Regions from separate parts of the Homo sapiens genome. Here region 2 is linked to region 1. Evidence: promoter capture Hi-C in human tissues and cell types (Jung and others, 2019). All regions are on one chromosome and are shown on one strand. The core of a region is centred on a gene start or on the middle of the fragment in contact, and the rest is flanking DNA. Distances in the headings are between cores, read along the strand shown. Region 1 holds the start of SPC24 (SPC24 component of NDC80 kinetochore complex). Region 2 has its middle 13 kb from the start of SLC44A2.

Region 1 (5,246 bases), core at 2,333-4,832:
CCTTCCTTTTTTTTTTTTGAGACAGAGTATCACTCTGTCACCAGGCTGGAGTGCAGCGGTGCGATCTCGACTCATTGCACCTTCCACCTCCCAGGTTCAAGCGATTCTCCTGCCTCAGCCTCCCAAGTAGCTGGGACTACAGGCACGTGCCACCAGGCCCAGCTAATTTTTGTATTTTTAGTAGAGACGGGGTTTCACCATGTTGGCCGGGATGGTCTCAATCTCTTGACCTCGTGATCCGCCCGCCTTGGCCTCCCAAAGTGCCAGGATTACAGGCGTGAGCCACCGCACCTGGCCTCCTTCCTTTTTAAGGCTGAATAATCTTCTGTCCTATGGGCCAGACATGGTAGACACGGTGACTCATACCTGTAATGCCAGCATTTTGGGAGGCTGAGGCAAGAGGATCATTTGAGCCCAGGAGTTGGAGACCAGCCTAGGCAATACAATGAGACCCCTGTCTCTAGGAAAAAAAAAATAATTAGCTGGGTGTAGTGGCATGTGCCTGTAGTCCCAGCTACTTGGGAGGCTAAAGTTGGAGGATTGCTTGAGCCCAGGAGGTTGAGTGAGCCATGATTGCGTCTCTGCACTCCAGCCTGGCAGAGAGATCCTGTCTCATAAAAAAAAAAAGGAAAAAGAAAAAAAAATTGTGTCCGGGCATGGTGGCTCAAAAAAAAAAAAATTGCGTTGTACAGATGAACCAAAAAAAAACAATTGTGTTGTAGAGATGAACCACGTTTTATTAATTCTTCTATCTAAGGACACTTGTGCTGTTTCCACCCTTTCGCTATAATGGGTGCTATGAACATAGACTTGCAAATATCTGCTCTATGACTTGCTTTCTTTCTCTTTCTTTCTTTCTTTTTTTTTTCTTTTTTTTTTTTGAGACGGAGTTTCCCTTTTGTTGCCCAGGCTGGAGTGCAATGGCGTGATCTCAGCTCACCGCAACCTCCGCCTCCCATGTTCAAGCGATTCTCCTGCCTCAGCCTCCCTAGTAGCTGGGATTACAGGCATGCGCCACCACGCCTGGCTAATTTTGTATTTTTAGTAGAGACGGGGTTTGTCCATGTTGGTCAGGCTGGTCTCGAACTCCCGACCTCAGGTGATCCGCCCGCCCCGGCCTCCCAAAGTGCTGGGATTACAGGCATGAGCCACTGCGCCCGGCCCAACAACCTGCTTTCAATTCTTTTGGGGCTATACCCAGAAGTGGAATTGCTGATATGGTAATACTATTTTTAATTTTTTGAGGAACTGCCATACTGTTTCCCGCAGCAGCTGCACCATTTTACATTCTCAGCAAGGGTACACAGCATTCCAATTTCTCTACATCTTGGTCAACACTTGTTATTTTCCAGGTTGCTTGGCTGGTTGGTTGGTTTTGGACAGTAGCCATCCTAATGGCTGGGAAGCGGTTCTCGCTTTGCTTTTTTGGAAGGGAGGTGGGCGGGTGGCATTTTTCCACAGGAGCCTTTAGATCTATCAGGCTCGAGTTGCACAATCTTGCCTGGCTTATCTCTGGGACACCTCCTGGCAGCTAATAAGAAAGGGCTATCTTTAGCCACTATGGCTTAGAAAGGTTAGGAACCTGCCAAGGTCACAGGTAAGCTGCAGCATCAGAAAGTGAACCTGAAGTCTTTTCCCCTCTTGATTTCACTCTGCCTAATTGTTATTCACTGCCTTTAGGCACAAAGAAGTGAGGTCTATGCCAACATTACACAGCTGGTTCAAGAAGCCATGCTCTCAGGCACCAAAGGGTGACACACACCTGTAGTCCCGGCTACTTGGAAGGTTGAAATGAAAGGATCACCTGAGCCACTGCACTTCAGCCTGGGGGACAGAACAAGACCCCATCTCAAAAAAAAAAAAAAAAAAGAAGGAAGAAAAGAAGGCCGGGCACAGTGGCTTACGCCTGTAATCCCAGCACTTTGGGAGGCCGAGGCAGGTGGATCACCTGAGGTCGGGAGTTCAAGACCAGCCTGACCAACATGGAGAAACCCCGTCTCTACTAAAAATACAAAATTAGCTGGGCATGGTGACGCATGCCTGTAATCCCAGCTACTCGGGAGGCTGAGGCAGGAGAATCACTTGAACCTGGGAGGTGGTGGTTGCAGTGAGCTGAGATCGCGCCATTGCACTCCAGCCTGGGCAACAACAGCGAAACTCTGTCTCAAGAAAAAAAAAAAAGAAAAGAAAAGAAAAGAAAAAAAAATCATAGGAAAGCAATGAGATGTTCTTTAGGTGGTAGCACACATAAAAATGTTGCCACGCCAGGCGCGGTGGCTCACGCCTATAATCCCAGCACTTTGGGAGCCTGAGGCAGGCAGATCACGAGGTCAGGAGTTCAAGACCAACCTGGCCAACATAATGAAACCCCGTTTCTACTAAAAATACAAAAAATCAGCTGGGTGCGGTGGCGGGCACCTGTAATCCCAGCTACTCGGGAGGCTGATGCAGGAGAATGCCTTGAACCCAGGAAGCAGGCTGGAATGCCTTGCACTCCAGCCTGGGCAACAGAGTGAGACTCTGTCTTAAAAAAAAAGAGAGAGAAAGAAAAAAAGATGCCATCTTAACATCTTGTTTCTTGCAGAAATACCAGTGTCTAGCATGGAACCAGCACCTTAGAGTCAGCACTGATCTTTTCTTTGTTTTGTTTTGTTTTGAGACAGGCTAGTCTCAAACTCCAGGGCTCAAGCGATCCTCCTGTCTTAGCCTTCCAAAGAGCTCAGACTTACAGGCGTGAGCCACTGCACCCAGCTACATGCTAGGATTCTATGTATGTTTCATTAAACAACTATATAGCACCTACTGAATAGGAGACACTATCACGCCAGGCTGGGCTCGGTGGCTCACGCCTGTAATCCCAGCACTTTGGGAGGCGGAGGCAGGAGGATTGCTGGAGGCCAGGAGGTCGAAGTTGCAATGAGCTATGATTGTGGCACTGCACTTCAGCCTGGGTGACAGAGCAATACCTTGTCTCTAAAAAAAAAGTAATAAGAAGAATTCTCACGCCAACGCTGACACAGGCACTAGTATGACCCTCATTTTACTAAGGAGGAAAGTACCGCACAGAGAGGTGAAGTCTGTCCAGGGTAACACAGCTAGTAAGTGGCAACGCTGGGATTCGAACCCAGTAAATCTGGCTGCAGACGCCATTTTGCTATGCAGCCTCTCATAGAATCTACTTATTCTCTATGCTTATTGTGTATCCCACGCACACACTGTAGGATGTAAGTTCCAGGAGAAGCTGCTCGCTGCTTTGCCGTTAGAACCCCACCCTGCACAGAGCAAGCGCTCGACCTATGGAGAAATAAACAGCCGCTTTCTCTCCCGCGCAGGCGCATCGGGAAGGATAACGGAGCCTCCCCCTTCCTGCGCCGATTGGTCATCACCGATGACTGACGGAGGAGTGGTCGCAGGCGCACCAGGCCAGACCAAAGGCGGCTTAGCCCAGTCTAAGATCCTGTTCCCCATGCCTATTGGCCATTGCTTATGACTGACGTATCAAAAAATCCAATGGAAAGCAACCTCTTCTGGAAGAGGGCGGGCCCCGCGGACAGTCAAATTTGCGCGGGTTGGAGCCTGGCGTAGTCATGGCCGCCTTCCGCGACATAGAGGAGGTGAGCCAGGGGCTGCTCAGCCTGCTGGGCGCCAACCGCGCGGAGGCGCAGCAGCGACGGCTGCTGGGGCGCCACGAGCAGGTGGTGGAGCGGCTGCTGGAAACGCAAGACGGTGCCGAGAAGCAGCTGCGAGGTGAGGGTCGGAGCGTGGTCGCGGGCCCACGGGGGAAGGGGCCCGGGTGCTGGGAGGGGGCGACCAGGCCCACCTCAAAACCCCTTCTCTCCTGGACTCTCCCATCTCCTGCCCTATGCCCCCTGGGACGGCCCCCTCTGAGCCTTAGTTTCACCATCTGAGAAATCGGCTTTATGACAGCAACCATCCCCCACCCCCCAGGGGTTTAGTGGTAAATATAGGAGTCTGGAGGGGTTGGCCCCTTCTGAGCTCTCCGTGAGCAGGAGCTGGGGGTCTCAGGGTTTGAACTGGGGCTCAGGAGTCAAAGCTCCGGGTTTGAATCCTAGCACCCATCCCCATGTCCGCTGTGAGACTTGAGGTGAGTTTCTTAAATTCTCTGTGCCTCAGCTTCCTTCCTTGTCAAATGGTTGTGACAATAGCCCATCCCTTCTTCCTGAAGGCATTCAGATGTTTTATGGAGCATCTGCTGCTGCCAGGCCCTGGGCTCACCGCAACCTCCACCTCCCGGGTTCAAGCTATTCTCCTGCCTCAGCCTCCTGAGTAGCTGGGATTACAGGCGCTTGCCACCGCACTCGGCTAATTTTTGTATTTTTGGTAGAGACGGGGGGTCACCACGTTGGCCAGGCTGGTCTCAAACTCCTGACCTCAGGTAATCTGCCTGCCTCAGCCTCCCAAAGTACTGGGACTGCAGACGTGAGCCACTGTGTCCGGCCCATCTTCACTATCTGTAACTGCACAGTTCAGTGGCCTTAAGCACATTCACACTGCTGTGCAACCATCAGCACCATCATCCATCTCCAGAACTTTCTCATCTTTCCAAACTGAAGCTCTGTCCCCATGAAACACTCACTCCCCATCCCCTTCTCAGACCCTGGCACCCACCAGGGTTCTACTTTCTGTCTCAAATTTGACTCCTCTAGGAACCTTACGAGGAATTGTACAATATCTACCCTTCCTAGTGGAATCATACAATATCTACCCTTTTGTGTCTGGCTTATTTCATGGAGCATAATGTCCTCCAGGTTCATCCATGTCATAGCCTGTATCAGAATTTCCTTTCATTTTGTGTACTTACTGTGAGACAGAGCCTCGCTCCATTACCCTGGCTTGAATGCAGTGGTGTGATCTTGGCTCACTGCAACCTCTGCCTCCCAGACTTAAGTGATCCTCCCACCTCAGCCTCCCAAGTAGCTGAGAACACACTTATGCGCCACCATGCCCAGCTAATGTTTGTATTTTTAGTAGAGATGGGGTTTCACCATGTTGGCTAGGCTGGTCTTAAACTCCCAGCCTCAAGTGATCGCCCACCTCGGCCTCCCAAAGTGCTGGGATGACAGGGGTGAGCCACTACGCCTGGCCAGAATTTCCGTCCATTTTAAAGCTGAGTCATATTTCATGATATAGAAGGATGGACCGCATTGTGTTTATTCATTCATCCATCCATGGGCACTTGGGTTGTATCCACCTTTTGGCTGTGTTGAATAACGCTGCTATGAACA
Region 2 (5,107 bases), core at 880-3,379, 540 kb after region 1:
CCTAATTTTTTTTTTTATTTTTGGTAGAGACAGGATTTTCACCATGTTGGCCAGGCTTGTCTTGAAGTCCTGACCTCAAATGATCCACCTGCCTTGGCCTCCCAAAGTGCTATGATTACAGGTGTGAGCCACCACGCCCAGCCTCTGAAAACCTTTTTGATGATCCACTTCCACTTAATAAATAATAAATGTATTTTCTTTTCCTTACATTTTAATATTTTTTCCCTTAAAAGGAATGGCAAAAAAAAAAAACGCAATTACTTTTGCACCAACTTAATAACATTTTCTTTTCTTTTCTTCTTCTTTTTTTTTTTTTTTTTTGAGACGGAGTCTCATTCTGTCACCCAGGCTGGAGTGCAGTGGCGCAATCTTGGCTCACTGTGACCTCTACCTCCCGGGTTCAAGAGATTCTCCTGCCTCAGCCTCCCAAGTACCTGGGATTACAGGCACGCACCACCATGTCCGGCTAATTTTTGTATTTTTAATAGAGACGTGGTTTCACCATGTTGGCCAGGTTGGTCTCAAACTCCTGACCTCGGGTGATCCGCCCGCCTCAGCCTCCCAAAGTGCTGGGATTATCGGCGTGAGCCACCGCGCCCAGCCACATTTTCTTTTCTTCAGCTTACTTTATTGTAAGAATACGATATATATAATACAGAGACACAATATGTGTATGTTGATATGTTGTCCGTAAGGCTAAGAGTCAACAGTAGGCTATCACTAATTAAGTTTTGGGGGACTTATATGCAGTTATATGCAGGCCGGGCATGGTGACTCATGCCTGCAATCCCAGCATTTTGGGAGGCTGAGGTGGGAGGATCTCTTGAGGCCAGGAGTTGGAGACCAGCCTGATCAACAGATCACAACCCTGTCTCTACAAAAACTTAAGGCATACACAGATTTCTAATTTCACAGGGGGTTGGTGCCCCTCACACCCATGTGGTTTGAGGGTCAAATGCATTATTTCCTTTCGTTGCTGTAACAAGACACCAATGCCTTGGTGGCTTAAAAAAACACAAATTTATGGACGGGTGCGGTGGCTCATGCCTGTAATCCCTGCACTTTGGGAGGCCGAGGCAGGTGGATCACCTGAGGTCAGGAGCTTCAGACCAGCGTGGCCAACGTGGTGAAACCCCATCTCTACTAAAAATACAAAAAATTAGCTGGGCGTGGTGGTGTGCACCTGTAATTCCAGCTACTCAGGAGGCTGAGGCAGTAGAATTGCTTGAAACCAGGAAGCAGAGGTTGCAGTGAGCCAAGATCGCATCACTGCACTCCAGCCTGGGCAACAAGAGCAAAACTCGTCTCAAAAATAATAATAATAATAATAAATAAAAACCACAAATTTATTATCTCACAGCTCAGGAGGACAGAAGCACAAAATGCATCTCACTGGGCTACAATCGATGTGTAGGCAGGGCTGTTTCTTTCGGAGATTTTAGGGGAAAATCTGTTTCCTTGTCTGTTTCACCTTCTAGAGGCCGCCCACATTCCTTGGCTCCTGGCCACTTCTTCCATTTTTAAAGACAGCAATCACATCAAACCCACCTCGCTTCCGTCGTTCCATGTCCTCCTCTGACTCTGCTACCACCCTCTTCCATTTTTCTTAAAGAGACGGGGTCTCACTATGTTGCCCAGGCTGGTCTCAAAGTCCTGGGTTCAAGCAGTCCTCCTGCCTTAGCCTCCCAAAGTGCTTGAACTACAGGCATGAGCCACTACACCCAGCCAAAGTCTTCAACTTGGCCAGGCGCAGTGGCTTACACCTGTAATCCCAGCACTTTGGGAAGTCAAGGCAGGCAGATTACTTGAGGTCAGGAGTTTGAGACCAGCCTGTCCAACGTGGTGAAACCCCATGTCTACTAAAAATACAAAAAATTAGCCGGGCATAGTGGTGGGCGCCTGTAGTCCCAGCTACTCGGGAGGCTGAGGCAGGAGAATCACTTGAACCCAGGAGGCAGAGGTTGTGGCAAGCCAAGATTGCGCCACTGCACTCTAGCCTGGGTGACAGAGCAAGACTCCATCTCAAAAAAAAAAAAGAAAGAAAATAAAAAGTAAAAAATAACTATATTATCTGGGTGTGGTGGTGCATGCCTGTGGTCCCAGCTACTCAGGAGGCTGAGGTGGGAGAATCGCTTGAGCCCGGGAGGCAGAGGCTGCAGTGAGCTGTGATCACGCCACTGCACTCCAGCCTGGATGACAGAAAACACTGTCTCTAAAAAACCAAAACCAAACAAATAAAAATAACAAAACAAAAACTTCTCCAATCCCCACTAACCATTAGTGTGATCCCATTTCACGACGGGCACACTGAGGTTGCTTGCTCGGGCCACACAGCTGGTGAGGAGCACAGCCAGGAGTCAAACCAACGCCCTGCTGGAGCCAACCCAGGCCTTTTCCTTGGCAGGTACTGGGAGAAGCAGAGATAACGTTGCGGCAATGGTGTGGAAGAAAAATTGGGAAAATTGAGCTGTTGGACAAGGCCAGGATTGGGAGAGGCAGCCTTCGGGTGCCAGCCTTGCTGGCTGTGACGGCTGACCCACCCAAGTGCAGTGGGCGTGGGCGATAAGAGAACTGCCACAGCCTGCCCAGTCACAGTGCTGGTGCCAGGACATCAAATGCCACCCAGCCCCCACAGCTTCCGGACACTGGCCAAGTCCCCAAGGGCTGCAGCGGCCCAAGGCCTCACCCGTACAGCCAGCCACTGGCCTCTGCCTTCCCAGAAGTCTGTGCCTGGGGAATGAGCATCGCCAGCTGCCCAGACACCTCTTTTGACAAAGGGTTTGAGGACAGCATCTGGGTGGGGAGGCTCAGAAGGGTTAAGGGCAAAAGATAGAGCGCCTACTGTATGCTGGACTATGTTAGGCACCAAACCAGAGATTTGCTTCTAGAAACATTTAACCTTTTTTTATTTTTTATTTTTTGAGACAGGGTCTCCTTTTTTGCCCAGGATGAAGTGCAGGGGCGCAATCATAGCTCACTGCAGCCTTGACCTCCTGGGCTCAAGTGATCCTCCCGCCTCAGACTCCCTAGTGGATGGGACCACAGGCATGCACCACCACGCCCCGCTAATTTTTAATTTTTTGTTTTGCAGAAACAGGGTCTCACTATGTTGCCCAGGCTGGTATAAAATTCCTGGGCTCAAGTGATCCTTCCGCCCTGGCATCCCAAAGTGCTGGGATTATAGGAGTGAGCCACCACACCCGGCTCAGCCTAAGAAGCTTTAAAAAGATCCAGATGCCACACACACACAGAAATTAATAGGTCACAATCTGGAAGGAGACTTCTTGGCTGAGCTACCTCTGAGGTGAAAACAGCTAGCCAAAGATTTGTAGAAGATTCTTTCACATGGAAAGCTAAAATCTTCCATGGACTTGAGGACTTACTTATAATTAGCTTTTAGTCCCCCTGCCAGAACAGAGGGAATTTATTAATTTTATTATGTAAGAGTTTATTTGTTTACTTGTATATTTGAGATGGGGTCTCATTCTGTTACCTAGGTTGGAGTGCAGTGGCACAATGTCGGCTCACTGCAACCTCTGCCTCCTAGGCTCAAGCAATCCTCCCACCTCACCCTCCAGAGTGGCTCGGACCACAGGCATAAGCCACCATGACCAGCTAATTTTTTTGCATATTTTTGGGAAGAAGGGGTTTTGCAATGTTGCCCAGGCTAGTCTCAAACTCCTGGACTCAAGCGATCCACCCACCTTGGCCTCACAAACAGCTGGGATTATAGGAGTGAACCACGATCCACCCACCTTGGCCTCACAAACAGCTGGGATTACAGGAGTGAACCACTGCACCGGGTCTCTTGTTTGTTTATTTATTTATTTATTATTTTTTGAAATAGTGTCTCACTCTCTTGCCCAGGCTGGAGTGCAGTGGCGCAATCTTGGCTAACTGCAACCTCTGCTGCCCAGGTTCAAGCAATTCTCCTGCCTCAGCCCCCTGAGTAGCTGAGATTACAGGTACCTGCCACCACGCCTGGCTAAATTTTGTAGTGTTAGCAGAGATGGGGTTTCACCATCTTGGTCAGGCTGGTCTCGAACTCCTGACCTCAAGTGACCTACCCGCCTGGGCCTCACAAAGTGCTGGGATTACAGGCGTGAGGCACTGCACGCAGCCTAAAATAATATTTTAAAATAATGCTCTCTAGCCCGGCACAGAGGCACATGCCTATAGTCCCCTACTTAGGAGGTTGAAGGGGAAGGATCGCTTCAGCCGGGGAATTCAACCAGCCTGGGGAACATCATAAGACTCCCTCTCAAAAAAAATTTTTTTTTAAATTAAAAATAAATAAATAAATATCATGTTCACCTTGGGGATCGATTGGGAAATGGCAAAAGAAAAGTCTTGGCGGGGCGCGGTGGCTCACAACTGTAATCCCAGCACTTTGGGAGGCCGAGGCGAGCGGATCACTTGAGGTCAGGAGTTCCAGACCAGCCTGGCCAACATGGTGAAACCCCGTCTCTACTAAAAATACAAAAATGAGCCAGGCATGGTGGCACATGCCTGTAATCCCAGCTACTCGGGAGGCTGAGGCCAGAGAATCACTTGAACCCGGGAGGCAAAGGTTGCAGTGAGCCAAGATCACGCCATTGCACTCCAGCCTGGGCAACAAGAGTGAAACTCCATCTCAAAAAAAAAAAAAAAAAAAAAAAAAGCCAGGCGCGGTGGCTCACGACTGTAATCCCAGCACTTTGGGAGGCCGAGGCGGGCAGATCACGAGGTCAGGAGATCAAGACCATCTGGCTAACACAGTGAAACCCCGTTTCTACTAAAAAAATACAAAAAAATCAGCCGGGCATGGTGGCGGGCGCCTGTAATCCCAGCTACTCGGGAGGCTGAGGCAGGAGAATGGCGTGAACCCGGGAGGCGGAGCTTGCAGTGAGCCGAGATCACGTCACTGCACTCCAGCCTGGGTGACTGAGTGAGACTCAGTCTCAAAAAAAAAAAAAAAAAAGGAAAAGAAAAGTCTCTAGGGAGAATTCTCTACCAGGGCTCTGCAAATGTTTTCTGTTAAGGACAAGATATTAAAGATTTTAAGCTTTGTGGTTCACATATCATCTGTCATATATATATATTTTTTTTTCTTTTTTCACAACCATTT

The links. Contacts are between HindIII fragments. The study calls those that stand out against the background at their distance.
Region 2: a contact is called between a fragment that was not itself captured here and the fragment with the promoter of SPC24 in region 1, in 1 of the 25 tissues and cell types used here (heart left ventricle).

The regions. Positions count from the first base shown.
Region 1 is chr19:11,154,118-11,159,363 of GRCh38, reverse strand. It overlaps SPC24 (SPC24 component of NDC80 kinetochore complex), which reads left to right and starts at 3,582. Exons shown (of 5, transcript NM_182513.4): 1 at 3,582-3,747. The coding sequence starts at 3,588. RefSeq lists a silencer at 3,466-3,625. The HindIII fragment of the contact is 16,265 bases long and covers 1-4,640 here.
Region 2 is chr19:10,610,185-10,615,291 of GRCh38, reverse strand. It overlaps a transcript of SLC44A2 not described here. Among named protein-coding and RNA genes, the nearest start is that of SLC44A2, 13 kb to the left of the region's middle. The HindIII fragment of the contact is 8,359 bases long and covers 1-5,107 here.